Regions from separate parts of the Homo sapiens genome. Here region 1 is linked to region 2. The links are contacts of gene promoters, found by promoter capture Hi-C in human tissues and cell types (Jung and others, 2019). All regions are on one chromosome and are shown on one strand. The core of a region is centred on a gene start or on the middle of the fragment in contact, and the rest is flanking DNA. Distances in the headings are between cores, read along the strand shown.

The links. Contacts are between HindIII fragments. The study calls those that stand out against the background at their distance.
Region 1: a fragment that was not itself captured here is called in contact with the fragment with the promoter of FMN1 in region 2 in 3 of the 25 tissues and cell types used here (dorsolateral prefrontal cortex, lymphoblastoid cells and mesendoderm cells).

What each region holds. Positions count from the first base shown.
Region 1 is chr15:33,971,583-33,977,729 of GRCh38, forward strand. All of the region lies in intron 2 of AVEN (apoptosis and caspase activation inhibitor), which reads right to left. All of the region lies in intron 1 of CHRM5 (cholinergic receptor muscarinic 5), which reads left to right. Among named protein-coding and RNA genes, the nearest start is that of CHRM5, 6.2 kb to the left of the region's middle. The HindIII fragment of the contact is 3,232 bases long and covers 1,854-5,085 here.
Region 2 is chr15:33,191,823-33,197,878 of GRCh38, forward strand. It overlaps FMN1 (formin 1), which reads right to left and starts at 2,892. Exons shown (of 21, transcript NM_001277313.2): 1 at 2,756-2,892; 2 at 2,087-2,238. LOC105370759 (a long non-coding RNA gene) reads left to right here and starts at 3,089. Exons shown (of 3, transcript XR_932090.3): 1 at 3,089-3,753. RefSeq lists silencers at 2,871-3,210, 2,985-3,194. The HindIII fragment of the contact is 9,448 bases long and covers 1-6,040 here.

The sequences.
Region 1 (6,147 bases), core at 2,220-4,719, 780 kb after region 2:
TAGAAACATACCTAAAATTCATTTTTCTGTGTTAGCATTCAACTTAAAGGGACATTGCATAATATTTTTAAATGCATTAAATATATATTTACTTATATCTTCATTATTATAACTTTAAGTTTTCATAAGGAATTTTTTTCATTCCATTATAATGGCACCGTGTTTCAAGCTTAATTCAACTGGGCATTTCAACTAGCCAATATATTTGTTCCTTATTATGGTTAATTTTCCTTATGAAGTGACCAAATTTGAATAAGGATGTAGTTCACCATGAAGATCATCTCCTCTCCAGCTTCTTCCTGCTGAGAGAGAACAATCTTTGGTTTGTGACATCACAATCTGTGACTGGGAAGTGGCTCTGATATCAAACAGATGATTATATGCTTTCAGTGTGAACTAGCTAAAAGAGAGATGTAAGCACTATTATTTCAAGTCATATCACCAAGACACTAAAGAGATGCATGACAGGAACTGAATTAGAGAAAGATGCTTTTATTGCATTTGTCACTTTTTCAGCATCAACTATTAAAGATAAAAGTACCATCTCACAGTTTTCTCATTAATAATTCAAAAGCGGGAGTAAACATCATGTTGGTTAAATTCACAGACCATGATAAAACGGGAGTAAGGAAAATACCAGTAAGCAAGCAGACAGTCATGAAAGAGGCCCCTAGAGAACTGAGAAATAGATGCAAAATTTCACCTTGGTTCAAGCAGAAATACTGATGCTACTCAGAAAATTGAAAAATTACCAAAACACCCAAAATGAGAAAGACGGTGTCTCTGAATGAGAAAGAGATCCCTAAATATAGATTATAAAGTGATCCCATGACATAGATTAATTAGTATCTGACACATGGACTAGTATGAGGGCAGGGAGGGGGCTGGTTAACACCTTTCTAAAACAGCATGGATTTGTTAAAAAACAAAAACAACAACAGAAAACAAAAACAAAAACAAAAACAAAAAAACAAAGGACTGTCTTGAATTAGCAAAACTTCTGTGTTCTCTGAAAGTCTTCAACAAATATTTGTAAAAAATAAATAAAAATAAATCAGGAGTTAGGGTTCAATTAAGGAAACAAAAATGAAAGCTCCTTTTACAAACACATAGGCATATACAGACCTCTTTTTGTAATCTTTGTTTGCAACAGTAGCCAAAAGACAAAGCAGACCAACTAATCCTTCCACACTGAACACATGTGCAGTCTGTCCTTTGATTAGTGGCAATACCCTGATTCAGAGTATCAGTCATTTGTGACTGACCCTCCTAGACTCAGAGCCTATACAAAGATGATGTGTAAAAAATACAGTTAACTACTCCACGCATAATTACAAGTCAAGCTGAAGTCTCATTATCTACAGTTACACAGATTGCTTGATCCAGTGGTGTGTAGAGAATTCTTAAAGCATTTATTCAGTCCTATGTACTGGTTCATTACAACCAATGGGTTATTCAGCAGTTGTTTAAAGATCTGACATTCTCCATTTTTTGTATTGAAATTATTAGTGAAATAACTCAAGAATCTGGACCAATCAGAAAACATTACCACTTTTATAGACATTGTTTGACGTCACACTGTTGTCATCATCAGACTACGTGGGCCTTCTTATTTCCTGATTATCACTATAGAAATGTAGCACTGAATAATGTGTTCTTTAAGAAGCAAAAGCCAGAGATGATTTCCAGTTCAGTTATCAACTAAAAATCCTTAGCTATTTATAGAATTTTTTGGTACAGTAACCTAGAAAGCTGTTGGTGTAAATCTATCAGGCTCAGTATATAACATAGTACAACTCTTAATATTTCATCAACTGTATACCTTCCCTTCATTTGTGTTGCAAAGACAGTCCTCTACATGCAGTAACTTCTGGGTAACTTCTGGTAATACCTACAGAAGAGCTTCTCATGCCTAGGAACTTCCCCAACACTTTGAGGATACTTCTTTCATAACACCTTGTTAGATTCCATTGAAAACCTATTTATGGCCAAGCGCAACCTGTAATCCCAGCACTCTGGGAGGCCAAAGCTGGAGGATCGCTTGAGGCCAGGAGTTCGAGACCCACCTAGGCAACACAGCAAGACTCCATCTCTATAAAAAAATCTAAAAGTTAAAAAAATAAGAAAATCTATTTATATAGTTGTCTGACATACGAAATTGCATTTTTCATGGTTGAGGGCCTTAAGAGTAAAGACCACATCTAATTTATCTGTCTATTCCCAAGGTAAGCTCAGGACTAGTTAATCAGCAGATGTGTTAAATGAATGTGAAAATGTATCTTAATGCATTCTCAGGTACAATCTCAGACAGCCAGAAGAATAGTGATCCTAAAATATACCTCAGCTGCATTTCACTGATAATAGGCAAGTAGGTAACTGCAGAAAAGTCTAATGAAGGAGTCTTTTAAAGTAGTTTATACTGAAATAATAGCTATAAGGAGATAATATCTGTTAGGGATAGTATATGATATTATGAGGTATGCAAATACAGGATAGCAAATTTATCCCTTATGCTTTTGCTCTATTTGACATATGGAAATCACGTTTGCTATACTACTAGATCTAGAATTTCATCGATAATCCAAAAGGATCTAAATTGGTCTTGCTATTAAAAAGTGACTTCAGGGGAATTTGAATAAGTACTTTGCAAATGAAATTGAAGAGATACTACAGTCATCTTTCTATTCAAAGATGAGTGGAGAAAGTGACACACTTAAAATCTTACATTTATTCTGTTGGATGCTCTACCTGCCCCCTCTCCCTCTTTCACTCTCTGTGAGGAATGAATCTTTGCAAGTTACCTATGTTATATCTCCCCAAGTCATCTCTTCTCCTTATGCCAACATACAATATACCAACAATGGTGATTTCTTTAAAAGCAGGGACAAAGGCTAAAAGACTATGCTGTGCCTCAACCCCTATGATAGAAATTAAAGTAGCAGAGTGTTGAAGTAGGCCAGCATCACTCTAGAATTCATCAACATGTGTGTTGGGGTGGGGGCAGCTATAGTCTGAAGATGCTCAGGGTACATGAATAATGCATGTGTACGTCCTCACAGAAATCTGTGATTTGATGTTGGCGTGCACAACTTAAGATTTTGAGCTTTGGGCCGGGCACAGTGGCTCACGCCTGTAATCCCAGCACTTTGGGAGGCCGAGGCAGGTGGATCACCTGAGGTCAGGGGTTTGAGACCAGCCTGGCCAACATGTTGAAACCCCGTTTCTAATAAAAATACAAAAATTAGCCGGGTGTGGTGGTGCATGCCTGTAATCCCCGCTACTTGGAGGCTGGGGCCGGAGAATCGCTTGAACCCAGGAGGTGGAGCTTGCAGTGAGCCAAGATTGCACCATTACGCTCCAGCCTGAGCAACAAGGGCGAAACTCTATCCTGAAGGAAAAAAAGAACAACAGATTTTGAGTTTTGACATCCTATCATGTTTTTAGCCATGTTCCTTCTTTCAAACACCATCTTAGATAAAATATCAAGATATAAGACATATAAGAGCAGATCTGCCCTGGTTGGGTTGAGACAGAAAGCTTAGAGCCCGCAGGTCCCCTTCTCACCCCATCTCTTCTACACTCTCTCCTCCACACGCTTCTTGGACACCTTCTAAGATATGTTTGTTGTAATTGTTCTGCCATCTAGAGGATTCACAAAGATATTCTTCTCCATTTTAATGCAAGTTTTTGATTCCATATAGACACTGCCAAATACTCTAACCTAAAACTCCTGGTATATGTCAAGCAATAGTATTTTCTAGAGCAAGAGGGCACAGGTTGCGAAACAGTGCTACTTAGCTATGCGGAATGCTACTCAATTATTCTGCTGCCTAAACATTGATCAAGCAACTAAGACCTAGGATTCAAATAAATTATAAGTTGATTTTAAAAAGGACTAAACATCTATAATTTGGGTTGGAATATTCCAGAAGTAACTAAAATTAACAAAATCTCAAAAAATTATTTGCAATCAAGAAAGCATAGAAACAAAAAGTGAGAATTTGTCATAATAGAACTCAGAATTCAGTGTGAGAAAACAACAGAATTTGTTAGAAATACCAGGTCCCAGCTGGGCACGGTGGCTCACGCCTGTAATCCCAGCACTTTGGGAGGCCGAGGCAGGTGAATCATGAGGTCAGGAGTTCAAGACCAGCCTGACCAACATGGTGAAATCCCATCTCTACTGAGAATACAAAAATTAGCCGGGCGTGGTGGCACATGCCTGTAGTCCCAGCTACTCGGGAGGCTGAGGCAGAAGAATCCCTTGAACCCGGGCAGCGGAGGTTACAGTGAGCCTAGATTGTGCCACTGCACTCCAGCCTGGGTGACAGAGTGACTATGTCTCAAAAGAAGAAAAGAAAAGAAAGAAATACCAGGTCCCTTGCATAATATTCTAGTATTATTTCACCTAACAACATTATACCAAACACTGGAGTTGTCCTGAGTTGTTTCCAGGTTTGTGAACTCTGCAATTTACTTGCTTTTGCAAGTGAGATGGGGCTCAAGTATTTAAGCTTGAACCTCCATATATAACTAAATATTACAACCAGCAGGATATATTGGATAAAATCAACTTTTAAAAGAGGAAATATGATCTTCCATCTAAAAAAGCCATGTTTCAATTATTATGACATACTATTTATATTACAATGTATTCATTTGCATTCAGTGATCATCTCCAGCACTGTCCTGTTCACTAAGGAATTCTCATAACTATTCATCCAAAATCTCAAATGATTCCTGCTTTGAAGTCAATCTCCTAAGTGAGTAATGTCGCTTTTTTCTCTAAAATACTTTAAAATATTTTCAAATATATTCTTGAGATTCAATTTTAAGTAGAGTTATTTTAAACCAACAACCAATACCCATGGACTTATTACACAGCTTTAATATAAATTTCTGCCATGCCCGCATCAGATTTTTTATGGCCTCTCCATAAATGGATCTGGGAAGAAAAACTCCAGTAGACAACACACTTTTATTCTGTAAGTGTATTAGGAACTGGTTAAAATTTATATATCTTTATTTAGGCTTTTTAAGTATCAGGAATAGGACCTTCTGCAGGCATAATGGTATATCTCCATTTAAAATATTTTAAATAAATGTAAACAGCAAGACAGAAACAAAAAAAAAATTTAACATAAATGTATTGTACCTCTCCTGTCTCAGATGACCAGCTGAAATTTTTAACATAAATTTATTGTACCTTTCCTGTCTCAGATCCCCAGCTGAACTTTTGAAACAAACATCCTAGGCATAGAAACATAAGCTACTTTATTTTTCTATGCCTTTTCTTCCCATCCCTGAGTCAGCCAGCCTCCTGTGGTATAGTGACATCCTGGATGGAAGTAAAATAATCAAAATTACAGGGTCCCTTGGGAAGGAAACCAATTCCCAGCAGTGATTCCTTATATAGAAAAGAGATAGCTAAACTCATGGTCACAATGGCATGAATTAGTTATGGCAAGGTTAATATCTTGTATAGAAAAAAATAATTTTTGGCTTAAATTGGTACCAAGGAGATAGGAAGGTTGAAAGGCTGTCTCCTCACTAACAAAATCCGCACTACCTTTTTTAGCAACAAAATGAACAAAAAACACAAAATATACATTTAAAGGGAACACAAAAAGCTGGAGTTCTTACATGAGACAGGGAAGCTTGCCTTTAGGATAACAAGAACAAGCTCCAATACTCTTACTCTAAGACACTTTTTCTCATATATTGGTAGGATAGAAAGATCATCTGATTAGCACTTCAACAAAGCAGAAGATGAGACAGATTCAAAACAAATCCTCCCCTTATCATCTCCTCCTATACTCCCTTACTTTTATTTACAAGTACATAAAATACTGCATATTATAATGAATTCCGGTTTCAAACCTTGACATTCTCTTTTGTTAGGAGGCTATGACAGCGTGCTTTGATTCAGGGTGTTGTATCCCAGCCTCGTGGCCTCACTGAGCACCATTCTTATGCTTGCTCTCCTCCAAGGACACTTTGGAAGAAAGGATGGTACATACATATTTTCCTTCTCATTACAGCCCTATGTCTATGTCTGTGAAATTTTGAACCTTGAAATTCTGACTATTTCTACAAGTGAAGAATCAAACGTTCTCTATTACACTCTAAGTTTCCAATAATATGGTC
Region 2 (6,056 bases), core at 1,642-4,141:
TATTTGCTGCAGGAGAATACAATTCCCATGGTTTAGCGTCTCTGCAAGATCAGGCAAATCAGATTAACAGCTGTAATTCTGTCAACACAGGCTGGGACCTGTTGAGAATTAAGCTGATATTTAAGACAGAGACTATGTACATCTAAAAATAATAGCTACTCTTAAAACCAGGTCCCAAAAAGAGATTATGAATAGCCCCTAAACGTGGTCATACTACCAACCAGTAGCATCACTGCAAGATATGAAATATCCATTATGAACTTTTACACTGATACGAATAAAGTTTTAATAAGAAAACCATTAAAGGCAAGATCATCTAAAGCACACCACAGCTTGGGATGGTGTGCATGAATCCAAAACTTTAACGTAAAACTAGACTTTGAGGCATGGTATATGAGATAGGAGAGAAGCATTTCTCAATTTTCTATCAAGGATATTTACCATCATCACATCAAGTTCCAGTCTGTCCCCATTCCTCTTCCTCTGGGAACAGCTCCACCAATTTTATGTCTGGAAAGGGAGGATGACCAGGATATGAGACCTACCCTTAGACAATCATAGGTCCTATGGGACCCCATTCCCTTGGCCAAAGCATTTGGTCTAGGCAGGGTTAAGCCTGTGACAAAGGCTTCATCAATCACAGTCAATGCATTGAACACTCAGTGAGAAAGAAGCAGTCTAGAATAGGGCCAGAGGCCTGGAAATCTTCTCTAAAGCTGCATCTTTAACGTATCTCAACTAAGAATCGGCTAAGTACTTGTGAAGGCTGGTGAGAGAAATGCCTGTCCAAACACAGGTGGCTTCAATAGTGGCACCCCTCTAAGATGTAGTGCTATAAGGAACCTGAAGACTACCATACCCCATTTGCATCAGCTCTGACACCTAAAAAGGATAAAGACAATGGAAAAAAATGCATAATTTTTAGGAACGAGACTGGCCTTTATTATCCTTCTTGACTAGTATTATTAATAGCAGTTACTATAAATTCCCCACTTATGTGCCAGAAACTACTGAGTATTTTACCTATATTATCTCGTTTAATCCTCACACCTTCTCCTAAGAGACAGGTAGTATTATCCCTATTTTACAGACGAGAAATTAAAATTAAAGAGGCAAGCAACTTGCAAAAATCACTGAGCTAGTCAGTGGCTGGTCCAGGATTTGAACCTATGTCTGACAGGTTTATGAGTTTAGCCATTACAATATACTGTCTCACTACTCTTCTCCATTGTTTCCCTCCATTGAGGCCATTGCTTCTTTGTTCCTGCAATATGTCTAACTATTCATTGGTCCTGCTCCTGGACTGTAACACAGTTGAGAGAAAGGAGACTAGTGTTTAGATATCTGATCAAGAAGACCCGAGACCTCATTGATTCATTGTGGAAGCAACATCTTCCACAACGACAGTTAATCTGGTATGCAATTCTCAGCTATACTGTTTTCCCTCCCAAAAAAGGGTTAATAAGTCTGTGATCCAAGAGATTTGCAGTAAGCCCTAGAAACAGCTAAGCAACGGCTGTTGAATCCCATTGGTGTGCCTATAAGATGCTACCTGGTGTAGAGAACAGAATATAATTCTCTCTCCTAGGAATTTAGATGCGCCCCTCCGCCCCCCTGCCAATACACACGCAAGGGGGCATAGCAGATGATGGCACATGTCCCATATGCAAACATGAATAGTAAACATGCTTTAGTACAGCTGGAGCTACTGTAGCAGAAAGTCAGGTTGTCTGCTACTCCACCTGGTCTTCTTAAAGGATTGGGTCTGGACATTCACCTCTCAGTGACTGCCACTCCCCATATATATCACAGGTTCAGGCTCTGCATTCAGCCCATTCGGAGTGTGTGAGTGCTAACATGGAACTCTCCAGGAGACAGCAAGCAGAAATGTGGATGATTAAAATAAAGGGTTTTCTTTGGCAATCTCAATTGCAAATGAGGATAAGGAAAATCCTCCCAGCTCACACTCTGCTCCCAGCTACTTGTTCTTGAGTTAAATGAGGGCTTGGCTCTGGCCTCAGGGGGCAAGAGCACTGTTCGTTATTTGGTGGTGGGGGAGGGGGTTGGGGGATCCGTCAGCACTTACATGCCTTTAGAGAATCTGCCTTTACAGAACTTGAAGAGCTCTGATGGAGGAACAGAGATGCTGTGGTGGTAGTGGCCTTGGAGGTGGTGGTAGTGGCAATGGTGATGATGATGATGATGAAAGAAGAAGAAAACGGTGATGGTAAATGTCATCTATAAACACAAGCAAAAAGCAGCAACAGATACCTTTCTAGTCATTGCCAACCATAGTCATGAAGCTGCTTCTGTTCCCAATGCAATCCCATTGTGGTGCTCCCCCTCTGCGCTAAACACATCCAGCTTCAAAAAAAAAAAAAAAAAAAAAAAAAAGCTCTGCATCTCTCCGTCCCCCGCCCTCCCGCCCTCCCGCCCTCCACCTTTCCTGTGCCAAGCTGGGAATGAGACTGCACTGGCGGGTCAAGGGGGCTGGGACCTGAGAGTCAACGACAGGAGTTCTGTAGTGAGGAGCGTTGGGATGACCCGGAGGGCCCACCAACGTACTTGGGAGCAGCTTGGTGGGGGAGCTGGAGGAACCGACACAGAAGGGGAGGAAGATAAGCTGGCGGGGTAAATAGACTTGATGCCTCATTCCAAGAACCCTGAAAGCCACGGGGGAAGGCGGAGCAGGCAGCCTTTGGTCGGGAAGAAGAGACGGGCAGATGGCCAGCAGAACAGACAAGACTCTCTTTACCTGACCAATACTCGGGAGGCTGGTCCCGAGTCCCAGCTACTCGGGAGGCTGAGGCAGGAGGATTGCTTACGGCAACAGCCGTGGCGGCTGCAGCCTCGAAGGATGCTGCGCTCCAGTCCAGAGCCAAAGCCCAAAGGGGCAGCTGCGCCGACCTCCACCGAGGCTCCGCCCCACAGGCCACAGGCCCCGCCTTCCTAGCACGCGCCGGCCTGACGAGCTGTTTGGGGGAGGTGAGCAGTAAACTGATCGGCAGGGCTGAAGACCAGTGGAAACGTGCAGCGGCGCCCGAGGTGGCAGGGGAGGCGGGGCGGGAGGCGGCGGTGCCCAATCAGCAGCCGAGCCGTTGGGCCAGGCTGGGAAGCAGTGCTGTCTTTTGGCACCGTCTGATCCGGGCTGAGGGATTGAAGGCGGTGGTCGCTAAGCTAGGTCTAAGACGGACAGCCAGGGCGACAACCAGTCTCTCGCTACGTGTCCCCAGCTTCCCTGTTTCCGAGCGCCTCTCAAGGCGCACGCTCTGGACTTGTTCAGATGGGGGAAGGGAACTGGTCTGGAACTCCCCACTATTCCCGAGGTTCCCACGCCTCCAGATCCGGAGAGGCCGTTTCGCTCCAGTGGCCTGGCCCCCCTGCCCCCTCAGCCTAGCCGTTCTTGATCGTAAGTGCTAAAAGGAACAAAGAAGGAGAATTCAAGAATCCACACATAAGCCCAAACCCTGACAGGAGCCTTTTCCTCTCCCATCTCCTGCCTACGCTTCCTCCTAGTAGCTTTTTAACTGCTGGCGGTTAAGTTACTTTGACTGGTTTGAATTAAACGCAAAATAGGTTTAGGCTGAGAAATGGGCCAGACCCTTGGCGATCTGAGAAAGAAAGACTGAGTCCGGATGTCAAGAGGCCTGGGCCTCACGAGGGAGTTTGTCTGCTTATTTGAACACCTCAGAGTTGAAGATCTTGTTACTGCTATTTCTGTGCTGGTGAATCAGTACAGACCTTGATGCCAAGGTACTGTTTTGTCCCCAAGTGTCTAATCATTACTGAAATGAACTACCTTCAAACCTTTCCTAAGAGGATTTGAGGCCTTAATGTCGTTGAGATTTGGAATGTGATTTGAGTGACACTGAGATCTTTTCCAAGTAGGTAGGCAAGAAAAGGCATTGTCTTTAATCTGCTTTTGGATAAATGCGAACTGTATCACCCATTTGGTACTTGAAGATAGAATTTTGTCCTGAATAGATTCTGTTTTCAAATAAGTAAATGGGAAAAAAATTTGGAAGGTATTTTTAAGGTGATTTTTTTCACTATTTTTTTTCTAGAAATAATAGTTTATTGGAACTCTGATTTATTCTTAATCACAATATTAGCCAAACACTGATAGGCCCTTTATTTATTTGTTTTTTTAACACACGGTCTCACTCTGTCACCCAGGCTGGGGTGCAGTGGTGCGATCTTGGCTCACTGCAGCCTCAACCCCGTGGGCTAAAGCCATCCTCCCAACTCAGCCTCCAAAGTACCTGGGACTACAGGCGGGCACCACCATGTCCAGCTAATTTTTTAATTTTTTATTTGTAGGGACAGGGTTTCACCATATTGCCCAAGCTGGTCTCAAACTCCTAAGCTCAAGCGATCTTCCCTTCTCAGCCTCCCAAAATGCCGAGATTACAGTTGTGAAGTGCTGTGCCCGGCTCCATAGGCACTTCATATACATTATCTCCTTCAATCCTCATATCTTCCCCTTGTAAATTCCACTTATAGATAAGAAAACTGAGGTTCCCAAAGTTCAAGTAATTGTCCTTGGGTCATGTTCGTAGTTAGGAGTAGAGTCAATACGAGGTCCGTATATCTCCTGTCTAAAAATCATCATCATCAGTTAGAAGAATAAGAAGCCCTCAGTACGACTCTTAATTCCTTGATGCTTTTTTCTTTTTACCTGAAAATTGTCATATAGGGATCCAGTTTTCACACTACTGACTTCTTGAAACCGCAGCCTCAGAAGCACCTTTAAGAGTGAAGTGTCACCTCTGACATGTGTTAGGAGCAATTGCAAGTCAACTTTGCTCATAGAAGGGAGCTGTGATTTCCTATTGTTGGGAAGGAAGTAAAATTTTGCAGGGCTTAAGTCAAACTAGGTTTTAATTGATGTAGAAATCTTTTAAAGTCCACCCACAAAATAATATCATGGTCGTGTGAGCTGAGTCCTAGAAAGGTAAAAGGATGTTAATCCAAAGTCATATTCCAGCATTGTTTCAACAGTGTTCTGAAGAAATTCCTAAATCCTACTCTGGCCTTTAATCAAACCTGGAAATATGTACTTGCTCTAAGCTTGGTAGGGGGAGGGAGTAGGAGGTGTTTTAAAGAGAAAGGAGAAGAAAAATATTTTCCCAAAGAGGCTATTAATAAAGACAAAATATAAATAAGTTAAAGGTTATAGATCAATACAAAGGTATACACTAATTAACAAGTTAGTGGAGTTTTGTTTTGTTTTGTTTTGTTTTGTTTTGTTTTGTTTTGTTTGAGACAATTTCACTCTGTCACCCAGGCTGGAGTACACTGGTGTAATCTCGGCTCACTACAACCTCTGTCTCTCAGGTTCAAGTGATTCTCCTGCCTCAGCCTCCTGAGTAGCTGGGACTACAGGCATACACTACCATGCCTGGCTATTTTTTGTGTTTTTAATAGAGATGGGGTTTCACCATGTCGTCCAGGCTGGTCTCGAACTCCTGACCTCAAGCAATCTGCCCGCCTCGGCCTCCCAAAGTGCTGGGATTACAGGCGTGAGCCACCATGCCCAGCTTGTTAGTGGAGTATTTATGTGATCCTTGCTTAATAAACAGTTACTGGCCGAGAGGATTGCATGGACCCAGGAGTTTGAGACCAGACTGGGCAACACAGTGAGACCCTATCTCTACAAAAAATAAATGTTAAAAAATTAGCTGGGTGTGGTGGTGCATGCCTGTAGTCCCAGGTACTCGAGAGGCCGAGGCAGGAGGATCACTTAAGCCCTCGCACTGCAGCCTGGGTGACAGAGCTAGATCCTGTCTCAAAATAAAAAATAAAAAATGAAAAAATAAACAGCTACTAAGTGCCTAATATATGTTATTGTACTAGACTCTAGGGATATCCAGTTCAATAAAGCCCATTTCCTAATGGAAATGCACAGCCTAGCTGAGAACACTCAATCTGGACCATACCTGAAGAGATCACTTTATCAACAAAATTACTAATCTTCACAACCACCCAGCAGGGTAGGTGTTATCACCACCTCAAGGCTGAGGAAACTCGGACTAGAGAGGATAGTGACTCACTTG